Regions from separate parts of the Homo sapiens genome. Here all the other regions are linked to region 1. Evidence: promoter capture Hi-C in 16 types of primary human blood cells and fetal thymus (Javierre and others, 2016). All regions are on one chromosome and are shown on one strand. Each heading gives the region's core, a stretch centred on a gene start or on the middle of the fragment in contact. The rest is flanking DNA. Distances are from core to core; before and after follow the strand shown.

Evidence for each region. Contacts are between HindIII fragments. The CHiCAGO score rates a contact against its expected background, and 5 or more counts as called.
Region 2: a contact is called between a fragment that was not itself captured here and the fragment with the promoter of IMMP1L in region 1, in 1 of 17 cell types (non-activated CD4 T cells). The highest score is 5.8, in non-activated CD4 T cells.
Region 3: a contact is called between a fragment that was not itself captured here and the fragment with the promoter of IMMP1L in region 1, in 1 of 17 cell types (fetal thymus). The highest score is 5.0, in fetal thymus.

What each region holds. Positions count from the first base shown.
Region 1 is chr11:31,506,539-31,511,151 of GRCh38, forward strand. It overlaps IMMP1L (inner mitochondrial membrane peptidase subunit 1), which reads right to left and starts at 3,084. Exons shown (of 6, transcript NM_001304274.2): 1 at 2,981-3,084. ELP4 (elongator acetyltransferase complex subunit 4) reads left to right here and starts at 3,229. Exons shown (of 10, transcript NM_019040.5): 1 at 3,229-3,469. The coding sequence starts at 3,247. RefSeq lists enhancers at 3,222-4,111, 3,244-3,533. The HindIII fragment of the contact is 1,748 bases long and covers 2,570-4,317 here.
Region 2 is chr11:33,699,683-33,704,144 of GRCh38, forward strand. C11orf91 (chromosome 11 open reading frame 91) reads right to left here and starts at 1,144. Exons shown (of 2, transcript NM_001166692.2): 1 at 563-1,144. The coding sequence starts at 1,058. It overlaps CD59 (CD59 molecule (CD59 blood group)), which reads right to left. Exons shown (of 4, transcript NM_000611.6): 4 at 3,328-4,462. RefSeq lists silencers at 810-899, 1,080-1,319. The HindIII fragment of the contact is 897 bases long and covers 1,431-2,327 here.
Region 3 is chr11:34,434,238-34,438,585 of GRCh38, forward strand. LOC105376622 (a long non-coding RNA gene) reads left to right here. Exons shown (of 3, transcript XR_931180.3): 3 at 2,009-2,085. Among named protein-coding and RNA genes, the nearest start is that of CAT, 2.5 kb to the right of the region's middle. The HindIII fragment of the contact is 1,653 bases long and covers 2,252-3,904 here.

The sequences.
Region 1 (4,613 bases), core at 1,834-4,333:
CTTTTAACTCTTCCTTTCCATGAATACTTTATTTATTCTCGTGTTTTATATTCAACTCTGCTACTTGCTGGTAAGTTCAAGAATTTGAAATTATTTGGGAGCAAAGATTTTATCTTTGTTAAAAAAAAAAAAAAAAAAGGCGGCTGGGCGCGGTGGCTCACACCTGTAATCTCAACACTTTGGGAAGCCGAGGCGGGTGGATCACAAGGTCAAGAGATTGAGACCATCCTGGCCAACATGGTGAAAGCCTGTCTCTACTCAAAATACATAAATTAGCTGGGCATGGTGGTGCATGCCTGTAGTCCCAACTACTCAGGAGGCTGAGGCAGGAGGATCATTTGAACCCAGGAGGCGGAGGTTGCAGTAAGCCGAGATCATGCCACTGCACTCCAGCCTGGCAACAGAGCGAGACTCCGTCTAAAAAGAAAACAAAAAACAAACAAACAAAAAACCCATATTTGGCTGACGCGCTGGCTCACACCTGTAATTCCAGCACTTTGGGAGGCCGAGGTGGGCGGATCACGAGGTCAGGAGACTGAGACCATCCTGGCTAACACGGTGAAACCCCATCTCTACTAAAAATACAAAAAATCAGCAGGGCGTGGTGACGGGCGCCTGTAGTCCCAGCTACTCGGGAGGCTGAGGCAGGAGAATGGTGTGAACCCAGGAAGGCACAGCTTGCAGTGAGCCGAGATCGCGCCACTGCACTCCAGCCCGGGGAACACACCTAGACTCCGTCTCAGAAAAAAAAAACAAAAGCATATTTATCCTACGATAGTGTTATACCAGATATATATCCTAATTTCATGAATACTCTGGTGTGTATATAGATCATCTTTCCAGAATTATAGTCCAAGTCAAAGTTGGAAAATAATTCTTCAGTTCTAGTAATGAGGCAAACAAAGCACCACTATCATCATCTTGGGAAATCTAAAGGGTTAAGTAAATACAGTAGGAAACAAGGGAATATGTAATACAGAAGCCTATAAAAACGAATTATACCATTATGTTAAGTGAAATAAGTCAGACACAGAAAGACAAATATCACATGATCTTACTCATAGGTGGAATCTAATAGTTCATCGCACAGAGAGTACAATGGTGTTTACCAGAGGCCAGGATGGTTGGCAGGGGGGATGGGGAGAATTTGGTCAAAGATACATAATATCAGTTAGATAGGAGGAATAAATTTCAAGAAATCTATTATATAACATGAATTTATAGCAAGCTGACTATAGTTAATAATCATATATTGTATTCTTTAAAAAAATGTAAACAGTGTAGATGTTATGTACTCTTACCACAAAAATGATAACTATGTGAGGTAATGCATTGCTAATTAGCTAGATTTAACGATTCCGGAATGTACATACACTTCATAGCATCATGAGGTACACAAAACAATGCCATCTGTCAAAAAATAATAATTATATGTAGCATTTCAAAAAGTTCACAGCATCAAAAATATTTGTAGGGGTGGGGGGACAGAGAGCATCAGGAAGAATAGCTAATGGATGCTGGGCTTAATACCGAGGTGGTGGGTTGATCTGTGCAGCAAACCACCACAGCACACGTTTACCTATGTAACAAACCTGCACATGAAGCCCAGAACCTAAAACAAAAGTTGAAGAAAAAAAAAATTCAAGACGTTTCTATCTGATATTGGACTGCTTTGTCACTTTTTCTTTTGGTCTTCCTAGTGCTTATTTACTACAGGATAAAATTAGCACATGCTATTTAATGTGTTCATTTTAAGTACTATGTTGTTTTCTATGTGTTAATTTTATCTCCTCCAGGTGAGACCATTTTTATTACCATAGGTCTAAAATGACAAGATTAAGTCCAAACAGACAGTAATCACTCAACAGCTATTTATTGAGTAACTTAAAGATTCAATATGAAAGCAACCTTGATCAAAGCTTTCCAGTTGATATATTGTGAAACAGGGTTTTTTCCTAAACATGATTCTAAAAAACAAGCAAACAAACAAAAATCCTCCCCAAATGAAAAACTCCAGTCACTATTTAGCAATACTAATTTCAATTTATCAAACAGAATCAGCCCAAAAATTTCAACAGGTCAGTGAGATTTAAAACAATTCGATGGCAAGAATTTCAATGAGGTTTGGCTCTAATTAAAAGGTATCACAGATCACTGTCAAAGTCAATAACTCAGTAGTGCGGTAATGATTTGGGAGTCCTTTTCAATTTAGACATTTGTCAATCATGATTGCCTTTAAACATCAGTTACCCACTGTCCCTGCTCAGTTTTGAAAAAAAAATTAAATACAAAAATACAACTCAAAATACATGTTTTTTCCACACATAAAATTGGTATTTTAGTAATAAACTCTCGATTCAGGGTTCATAAAATAAAGTAGGTATACTTCTAATTCTTCCTAGCAGTTTTTTGGGGGAAAGAAACCCTAAGTATTTTCTGTTATTTGCAGCTGCTTTAACAGCAAACGACAATTAAATGTGTGAACAAGGTTGTCAGAGTAACACTTGTCATTTACACCGCTTAGGAAAGACATCCAAGACTTCCAGAAACACTAATTAAAATTAACAAAAGCTTCTTATCGGAACTTGTCAGAGAGCTATAGTTTGTCAGACACAGGAAAACCAGATAGCCTCAAAGTTCAAGAGTTTTCGCTCTAAGGTTTAATTCCAAACCACCTACCACTAGGCACTAACGAACTAAGCCCAGACGCTCAGCAACCAACTCATTAAGGTAAGAGATCCCATCCTTTCCATATAACACAAAATTAAGAAAAAGACATCGTGGGGAAGGCGGAGTGAATTTTCTATCAGAAATCAGAAGATAAATGAGCAGGAAAAAAGTCTATCCTCACACACAGCGGAGAAAGGTGCTAGCAATTGCTTGATAAGCCCTAAGGGTTTATTGTTTCACCAACCTTTTCTTTAACTCAATGTGAATGAAGGCACTCAAAAGGAGAAGAACGTTACGTGATATTACCTACCTCGGGCCCCAAAGAACCCTGGAGACCCTCAACCAGGACACAGGTGGGCCTTTCTCACCTGGGCCCCGCCGAAGTCGACCGTCCTTTCGTAGGGCGCACTTTTCAGCAATACGCCTTCCGATTGGTTGGCTCGGGACTGACGTCTCAGTCCTATTGGTTACGAGAGCCGCGGTTGGGGCGAGGAGGCGGGAGTTTGGCACTGGTTCTGATAGGACGGGTGTTTGCGTTCCCAGAGTTCCTATTGGGTTAACACTGGAGGCTCTAAGATGGCGGCAGTGGCAACCTGCGGTAGTGTTGCCGCGAGTACTGGGTCTGCAGTGGCGACAGCCAGCAAGAGCAACGTCACCAGTTTCCAGAGGAGGGGTCCTAGAGCCAGCGTGACCAACGACAGCGGCCCTCGACTGGTGTCCATTGCGGGCACGCGACCGTCGGTGCGGAATGGACAGCTGCTGGTATCAACCGGGCTCCCAGCCCTAGACCAGCTCTTAGGTCGGTTCAGAGCGGAGATCTGGGCTCAGCCGAGGGGAAACTTAGGGAGGGGACCTGTCGGGGAAGCCACTTTGACCCCACATCTCTTTCTGACCCCTAAACCTTCGGAGGAGGAGAGAATAGCCTGGTCTGATTGAGATGGAGGGGAATACGGGTTGTGTGGAGACTTCTGAGCGCTGTTAACTAAACATGTTTTAGTGCCCTCGCTCTCTATTTCATTCCCTGCCCTCCAACCCCTTTTCATATTACGGAGGAATTCGTACATGCTTTTTACCCTGAAATGCTTTCTAGTCAAGGGAAGACATTAATTTATGGAGATGGTTTGGCTTTCATTCAGGATACCTCCCTTCTGCTTTCTCCAGGCAGCTCACGGTTTAGACCAGCCTGCAAAAGTTTTTATAATTGTGAGAGACAGACTTCATTAGAAGATGCTGGAAAAAAATGATTTCCCCTCTTTGACCGTCAGACTGCCTGTTCTCTGGTTCTAAATCTTAAAACATTTTGGCTTTAAGAGAGCGAATGTTAAAGGCTTATGTTGACACATAATCCTTATAAAGTATTTTGAGCCTGTCGTTGATATTTAGATAGTGTCTGCGTTAAATCTGTGTATATATTTTTTATTTTTTCTATATACATTTTGCTTCCCAGTATTGATTGCTGCTACATTCCATACGACATCTTTAAATTTAACTCACATTTTAACGAGAAAAGTCTAGTTCTTAGGCTTTCCTTTAAAATCTCTGGAATTTTTTATGAGAAGCCTGCTGAAGAATATGCTTGTTTCATAACTGTTATATTCAAAGGAATGACCAGATTAAGTTGGTAGGACAGATTTGCTGTGTTAATAAAGCTTCTAGATTAATTTCTGAATGCTGTTTCATTAAAACCCCGTCTGTGTTTACATAACTTTTTTCATAGTGTGTGATATGTGTCTGTTAAATCTTGTACACTTTCATAAAATATAACTCATTGCTTGTTCTTGTACTTCGTTTGACATTTCTTTCGGTTATTTTCCCCTCAAAGTAGGCTTTTCATAGGTTTAGTGCAGAGAAAGTAAGAAGACCAGCAACCTATGAGAAAGAGTATGGCTTCTTGATTCTCTCATTTCATTTTCCGGTTATTTCTAGATAAGTTTAAGTATTTT
Region 2 (4,462 bases), core at 629-3,128, 2.2 Mb after region 1:
CACAGAGTCCCAGGGGGGCTGCCCCCCAGCATTGAGAAGTGGAGTGTCCCAAAGCTGCCCTGGAAACGGCCTTGGGCCTTGTGGTTCTTGCACAACTCCCACCTCCCCCTACAGACAACTGACAGTCACCTTACTTCACCTTCCCCCCATGGAGAGCCCCGGTTTAGGACCGAACATTAAAGCTTAGGGACTGTCTGTGGTGGGTGGAGCTCCAGAGTACAGGGTAGGAGGATGACTGTGCAGGAGGATTAAAGTTCAGGACGGGGTGGTGGCGGATGGAGTTCCAGGTGTGGAGGCTCAGAGTCCAGATGACCCAAAGGGTTTAGGACGGAGGGAGGATGGAGTTTGGGACTAAGAGGCTCATGAAGTTCAGATCTGTGGTGGGGGGAGGAGTCGGTTAAGTCCAGGATAAGGGAGTCTGGGTGCTAGGGGATAGATTTTGGATCTGGGACTACTGGGGGCTGGAGTCAAACCAGGCTACATTTCGGGTCGGGGCACGGAGCCAAGGAGGGAGCTAGGGCAGGCTAAGGCTGGGCTCGGTGGCCCTGGCGAGGTCACGCACAGCTCTGGGAGTCGAAGCCGTCCCCAGTGATGGTGAGCAACTCCAGCTCCTTAATCCGGATCTCCAGCTCGCAGAGCTCCTCCGGGTGGGAGGCAGAGGCGAGCCTGGGGGTCGAGGGGCAGGGGACCAGGGGCGAGGCAACCACCTCAGGCCCCGGCGGCGGTGAGTAGAAGAAGCGCAGAGGCTCGTAGGGGATGGAGGCCAGGCCGGAGGGCCAGGGCGAGGGCCAGGGGCGCTCGCTGGAGGGACCCAGGCCGGGTGGTGGCGGGGGCGGGGGCGCCGGGGCGGGGAGCGCCTGGGACAGGGACCGGGCCCCCGCCGCCCCGCCCACTGGCGCCCCGCCCGCCTTCAGCGGCACGAAGAGCTTCTTCCAGATGTTGAAGTCGCTGAGCGGGGACGAGGAGATGCCGCGGTCGTACAGGGACGGGAAATAGAGGGGCGGAGCCGACCGCTGGCTCATGGTGGGGCTGTGGCTGCCGCGCCGCCCCTTTGGCATCGTTTGAATGAGGGTCTGCGTGGGAGGAACCCCGCGCCGGGAGACGCGCGCTCAGGCCCCGAGTCGCCGGGGTTTCGAGGTTCCACAAGCCCCGCCCCGATGGAGCGCGGCCCCACCCTTTCGCCTCAGCCCGGCCCCTAACAGGCGGGGTTCCAAAGCCCGGACGACCACGTCCCGGAACGCGGCCCCGCCCACCTCGGCTGGCCGCACCCCGCAGTTAGAAAGCCACGCCCCCTGGCTCGCCTCGCCTCGCCTCCCGTCCCTCGACTCCGCCCACCGCCTCGCTCTTGCTCTGCGACCCCGCTGGCTTCCGTTGTCATATCCCAGCATACCCTCATCCAGAACAGGCAGCGGGCCAGGGCTGCAGAAGAAAGCTTACTTCAGGCTTCCTCTCTTTCTCCCATGAGGGAGAAAAGTATTTCCTAGAAACCTGGCCCCTGCACCAGCAGACTTACCTCATTGCCTCACTGGCCGCGCCCACAGCAAAGAAGTCTGAGAAAATCAGTGTCTGATTTTTCATCCACTACTGTGGGAGGCAGACAAAGGAGAAGAGGATTGATTGGGAATGGCTGTTAGAGCCAACCTATGTATCTGCCAAACGTTAGCAGTGTTGAGGAAGATTCTAGAAAAGGGGATCCTCATCTGGTTTGTAATAGACCTGAAGGAGTGTTTTCAGTGAAATGCAGTTTAGTTCTCTTCCAAACACAGATATCACCAGGAGCTAACAGGCAACGAGCTAACCACCAAAAGGAAATCCTGTCCGCCCTACCTCAAATACTTCACCCATTGCTTATGAGCGATTTGGACATTTTGTCCAAAGGACATGACAGCTCATTTATGTGAGTAACCTGTATTAGCCATAGACTGAGGGGAAATAACTAATACATTTTCTTGAGAGCCTCTGCCTAATGATCACTGGTATGACTAGTGATGGGTGGAGGGCAGTTAAAGAGTCAGTATCAGCTTCACAAGTTAAATATATATATGCATATGTATCTGCACACACAGTGCAAAGTGTGTGTGTGTGTGTGTGTGTGTGTGTAGCAGCAAAGTGGAGAGAGTCAGATATTCAAGCTGGGTAGCCTTGGACAAGTTGCTTGACTTTTAAGTAGGTTTTCCATAAAATAGAAATAAGAAAACCAGGCTGCCTCATAGGGTTGTGATCAAACAGAAGACGGAACAGTGTGTGTGTGAAACACTTGAACTTGGACACTTTGTCCAAACACAAGAGGCAGCTGTCCCTACTAAGGGGCATGTCTGAAACTGGGAAGCTTTTTCTTCCCACACTGAGCTTCCCACACTTAGTTGTCACACGCAGTATTTGCTCTCTGACTTTGGCAGCCACCCATCATTGTTTATTCATACAAGTGATCACTAGGCTGAGGCTCTCAAGAAAATGTATTTCCCCTCAGTCTATGGCTAATACAGGCCATGTGCGATAGCTCAGCACCCAGCCTGTAATCCCAGCACTCTGGGAGTCTGAGGTGGGATCTCTTGAGGCCAAGAGTTTGAGAACAGCCAGGGGCAACATAGCGAGATTCTGTCTCTATAAAATAATTTAAAAAATTAACCAGGTGTGGTGGCATTTGCCTGGAGCCACTCAGGAGCTGAAGTGGGAGGATTTCTTGAACCAAGGAGGCTGAGGTTGAGGCTGCAGTGAGCCACAATCATAGCACTGCACTCCAGCCTGGGTGACAAGGCAGGACCCTGTCTCAAAATAAATAAAATAAAATAAAATAAAAAATACCCTTATCTTCCATTAGTTTCCCCCACATATTTAACTTCCCATAATTTACTGCCCAAGAAGCTCAAACCTCTTTTCCTTTGTCTTATCACTTTTCTACAATCGCCCATTGTTAAAATTGTATATAAGCTCTCAAGCCACTTCTTTGGGTTTTCACTTTGTTTCTGTAAGAACCCCATGTACCTGCGTAATAAACTTTGTCTTCTGTTAATCTGTCTTTGTCAGTTTAATTCTCAGGCCCCAGGCTCTGAACCTAAGAGATTAGAAGAAAAATTTTTTCACCCCTACAGAACCACAGTAATGGTAAGAACCAGGGTTTTGGACTCAAGACTTGGGACCAAACCCTGGATCCACTATGTATTTGGCTGTGCGGCTGAACCTTTCTCAACCTCATTTTTTCATCAATATAATGGGAATAGTAATGGCATCTACTTGCTTAGGTTGGCAAGACTAAGTGAGACAGTTTAAGTACCTGGCAATGGCTTGTGTTCAACATTAGCTCTTGTTATTACATATTAAAGGCCCTTAGAAGGAAAAGAGATTTTGCGTTATATTTTTTAAATGAAGCAATACAATCATTTTTTATGTATATATCTAGTTGAGGAGAAAAAATTACAGATTTTTTCCCCCTTACTCCAAGATAATCTAAACAGATTTTACTCTGGATGGCTTAATTATAACATAATCCATGAAGTTATAGCCAGGGGGTTAAATAAGAAGTTGATGACAAACTTGGTTTCTCTAACAAGTATGCAAGAAAACTCAAGTGCCACAATGAACACCCATAAACTGCTGTCAGGAGGCAAAGTCCCTATGAGGTAATAATAAACCCACGAGGTTAAGGCAAAACCCTACGGTTGTTTCTGCAAACAAATGTCCAGGAAACTCAAGTTTGTGATGAAAGAACAGTCTTGAATTCAACTTCAGCAGAACCTTTCCCTCCCTGGGCTCCAAAGCACTATGTCACCTACCTCTCCACTCAAATGCCCCATTAAGTACCATCCTGTTGGAGCTTCCTAACGCCCCTGCTCCCTGGTTTCATTTGGAACCAACTGAGAGACACAAGTCCCTCTTCGTTGATCAGGGTCAGTTGAAAGATGTAGCTGTCGGCCTGGTAGCCAGGTGGGCTTGCTAATCCTGCACCTCTACCTTAAGCTTACCCAGCGTGAGGCCAGGTTAGAAAGTCACAGGCCTTGGCAGCAGGCAGAGAGCCTTTACTGTCATAGTGAAGAGCTTGCCAAGGACAGGACTGATTCTTCCTCCAGCCTCACCTATCGGGGCAGTCATTGTTCCGCTGTCAGGAGGAGAGGGGCCAGAAGGGTCACACTGAAGAAATGTGACATGAGGGTGGAGGTTCCTGTCCAGCATTCTTCACTCTCTATTTAACCGAGGCTGACTCATTGCAGTTGGCACTAATTTTCCATTGCCACAGCCCTCTCCAGCCAGGAGGGCCTGGAGTACCTGAGGTGCTGTTTGCCGGGTTCCCTTGGTCCTCAGACTGCTCCCTTCAGAGAAAGCACAGAAAGCCTTCTCTGTCCCAAGGAGCCCCCCTTCCCCTCCCCCACTCCAGCTCTGCATCTGGACACACTGTCAGCCATCAGATCCTGACCAGGTGCTCAGCCTCTTTAGGGATATGTCACAATTTGCCGTGCCCGGTGGC
Region 3 (4,348 bases), core at 1,828-4,327, 2.9 Mb after region 1:
AATGCTTACTCCTGACACCACGCCTGACACCTATTCAGTTTCTCAGCTTTACTCAAAGCCTCCATGACTTAGCAGGTTCAGGTTAGGCGACCTTCTTAGGTAATCCTAATAACAGCTGGCCTTCCCTTCTCTCAGCACTTTTTCCCCGTGTTATTGTCTGATTATTTGTCTATGTCCACGTCCTTTGCTGTTGTACTCCCAGAGCCCAATAGGCAGGGGGCCCAGGACACAGCAGACATCCAGTATATTGGATGACTCCCATGGGTTAGTGGTTATGGCTGAACATAACATGAGAGGCCTTCTCTCTCAGAAGAATGTGATGAAATATGCAATTGATGAACATCCAGAATCCAGATATTCACCTGTCTTGAAAATTGCACTTCCAATCCACACTCTCAGTGCCTGTGACAGTATAAACTAGCTCGAGCATTGCAGAAAACAATCAACAACATGTCACAAGAACCTTAAAAAGTTCAAATGACTTGAACCAAAAATGACCTCTGAAAACAGGTCCTAAGGAAATAAATACAAATGTAGAGGAAGGATGTCACTGTACTGTTATAGAAGAAAACAATTTAAATGTTCTCAGTAAAGGAGTATGTAAATAAAGGAATAGTCCTTTGATTGCAAATTGTGTAGGCATAGGAGAAAAATATCACATTTTGGAAAAAGATTTAATGACTTGGAAAAAGTTTTATCTGATAATGTTAGGTGGAAAAAGCAGGATATAAGATTATGTATTCTATAGGATCCATTGTAAAACTCTCTCTCACACACACACACACACTCCTTTACAAACATATAAGAGAGAAAATATTGGTAAAAATGTTACCTGTTTATCGTAATCTTTGAATGATTGTTTGATATTTTATCCTGCATTTTCCAAGCCTCCATTAGTAAGTATAAAAAATAAGTTAAGGGCCGGGCGAGGTGGCTCACGTCTGTAATCCCAGCACTTTGGGAGGCCGAGGTGGGTGGATCACGAGGTCAGGAGATCGAGACCATCCTGGCTAACACGGTGAAACCCCGTCTCTACTAAAAACACAAAAAAATTAGCTGGGTGTGGTGGCGGGCGCCTGTAGTCCCAGCTACTCGGGAGGCTGAGGCAGGAGAATGGCATGAACCCAAGAGGCAGAGCTTGCAGTGAGCCGAGATCTTGCCGCTGCACTCCAGCCTGGGTGACAGAGCGAGACTTCGTCTCAAAAAAAAAAGAAAAAAAAGTGAAGGTAAAAACAAATTCCCAATTATTATTTCTATGTTTCTTCTGTTTTTTGTTTTGTTTTGTTTTTGAGACGGAGTCTTGCTCTGTCACCCGGGCTGGAGTGCAGTGGCATGACCCCGGCTCACTGCAACCTCTGCCACCTGGGTTCAAGCGATTCTCCTGCCTCAGCCTCACGTGCAGCTGGGACTACAGGCAAGAGCCACCACGCCCAGCTAATTTTTGTATTTTTAGCAGAGACAGGGTTTTGCCATGTTGACCAGGCTGGTCTTGAACTCCTGACCTCAAGAGATCCACCTGTCTTGGCCTCCCAAAGTGCTGGGATTACAGGCATGAGCCACCAGGCCTGGCCTATGTTTCCTTTTTTTGCAAACACCAGATCAGTAGCGTGGCACGTAAGGCCGAGGCGGGAAAAGGCACATCCATGTTCTTCTCCTTAGCATAGCTCATGCTATGGCCATCACCAGACACCAGAGGACATCTGGGTTGCCTCCTCCCAAGTAGGCAATTATTCATATTAAAGCGGGAAAGATATGGTGCAGCCAAATAGGCAGAGCAGAAGGTATGTGCTGCTACTGCATATAACACCACTGCTACTTTTTAAAGCAAATCCCACCTTCTTCTTTGGCTTGCTCAAGCCTGTTCCACAGTGAACAGGAGTCATGGAGCTGTGGTGATGTTTATTCTCTTCTCTTAAAGCCAACAGCCAATACTGAATTGTAACTCTCTTTGTTTCTTGTTGTGTTCTTTTCTCTTCCTTTTTGCCTAACTCTGAATTTACCTCACAAGGCCACTGTGAAGAGAATGAAACTGAAATATGTAGAACATTCTCGGCCTCTCTGAGGATGGGTGGAATCAGAACAGAGTAATTACCCCTTGTGCTGTCTTGTATGCCTGTCATCCAACAACACATGATGTTCATTCTCTCCATTCTTTTCTTGCAATACTGATGAAATAAAATTTGTCTATAAAGATTCCTAGCTGAGTACTCAAATGTTTTTCTTGAACATTTGTTACATGGTCTACTTTGCAAGCTTGGTTTCAAATTTGTTGATACCAGGATTAATAACAGTATGTCTTGTGCCAGTATATTTTATTTTCATTGAGTTCTGAAAATTGACTTCAGAGAACAGCATTTTTAAAATAACATTTTTATTTATATCAATAAAAATACCCATGAATTCATATGACTAAAATATTAAAACCTAGAACCCAATTTGTTTACCTAACCAATCACTTGCAATTACCTTTAGGTAATTGTATTGGTTTGGTTTCAAGTATTTTTTAACTAGGGCTGATTTTAAGAAGTGTTTTCATTTAAGCTGTAATTATAGTCGATAGAACTTCCACCTAATATGTGACTTTTTTTAATTTTTAATTTTTTTGAGATGAAGCCTCACTCTGTCACCCAGGCTGGAGTGCAGTGGCACAATCTTGGCTCACTGCAACCTCCGCCTCTTGGGTTCAAGTGATTCTCTCGCCTCAGCCACCTGAGTAGCTGAGACTACAGGCGTGTGCCACCACGCCCAGCTAATTTTTGTATTTTTAGCAGAGGTGGGGTTTTACCATGTTGGCCAGACTGGTCTCGAACTTCTGGCCACAAGTGATCCGCCTGCCTCGGCCTCCCAAGGTGCTGGGATTACAGGCGTGAGCCCCCGCACCCAGCCTCCTATGTAACATTATAAATTTATTGTCATTACTTGTAAGCCTGCCCTTTATTTTAAAATACAAGATATGACAAGATCAGAAACCAGTCTTGTTTCTCCATTTCTTTCTCTAGAAATAATTCTTTAGGAATTCAAATCCATAGTAACAAAAACAAAGGAAAAAAAAACATGCTTTTTTTTATATAATGAATAAAGGTTAAGAAATGACTCCAGGTCTCTTATTTATTTTGTTGATATTTGTGTTGGTTAGTTAAGAAGATGATTTGCTCGATTATTTCAACATTTATTTATTCAACAAACTGTGGACTTTGGAGATGAACAGCTGAAGCTAGAATCCTGACTATCCCTTAATAGCTGTGTAACTTTGGGCAAGTTATTTAACCTCCCTATACCTCTGTTTCCTAATCTGTAAAATGAAGATAATATTAGTATCTAACTCATAGGGTTGTTGGGAGGGTTAACTAAGCAAATATACAAAAAGCTGAGAATAGTCCCTGGTATATAGTAAGTGCTCAATAAATTATGGATGGGAGGATCCTGACCCACATGGAGTTTACAGTCTTGGCAGTATGGATCGGGCAGGTAGAAAAAGACACCAAATTACACAGCCAACAGCATCTTTATAATTGTTTTTAATATAGGAAAAGTATAGGGTGCTAAAGATCAATTTGTGGCTTTCTTTTCCAATGAACTGCTAAAGTTCCACTTTTATGCCCAAGATTCTTATCATACTTTTGTAAGATCAAGAACAACATGTGAAGTTTCCACTATTATATATCCACCCATTATATGTAGTTGTACTGGAAAAAATTAAAAGCTGATAACTTTTAATTTGAAGATGATGGTATATACTATGTATATATATTAAGGTGCTTAAAGATAAATCCTAGCACCTGAGGAGGTGTAGAAATCATTCAAACTCTTTGATTACAATGACAAACTAGTCAGTAACTTACTAAATATTGTACTATATATTACTAAGTATTTTACTCTTCAACATAGCTTTTTAAAGACACAAAGCTTTTCAAAATTCCTGCTTACCTGGGGGTAAAATTTGGGGAAGCAGATTTCTCCAGTGTTTAAAGAAGCCAATTTGGCAGTGTACCAGAGTTGAATACATTTTTCCCATCACAAGGGAATACATTTTTCCCATCTAAGTTAAGTTGTTTTTCTCTGGTAAAGGAGGAAATCAACACCCATCTGTACGGAGATAAACGTTTCAGAGTGTTTTTATATTAAATAATTAGTATACTAGTCTAGTAAGTGATAATCCACGAATAAGTTAAGAAGAGCTAAGAAAGAAAAAGAAAAGCATCCATCCATCCTTTGGTTGCAAATAATACTTACATTAGCGTATGGCAAAATTTAATTTTGTACAGAGTAATTTAACCCAGGATTGCTGACTTTTTAAGAGCTGAGAAAGCATAGCTATGGAGCGCAAGGCCCCACCCAGCAGGGTCTA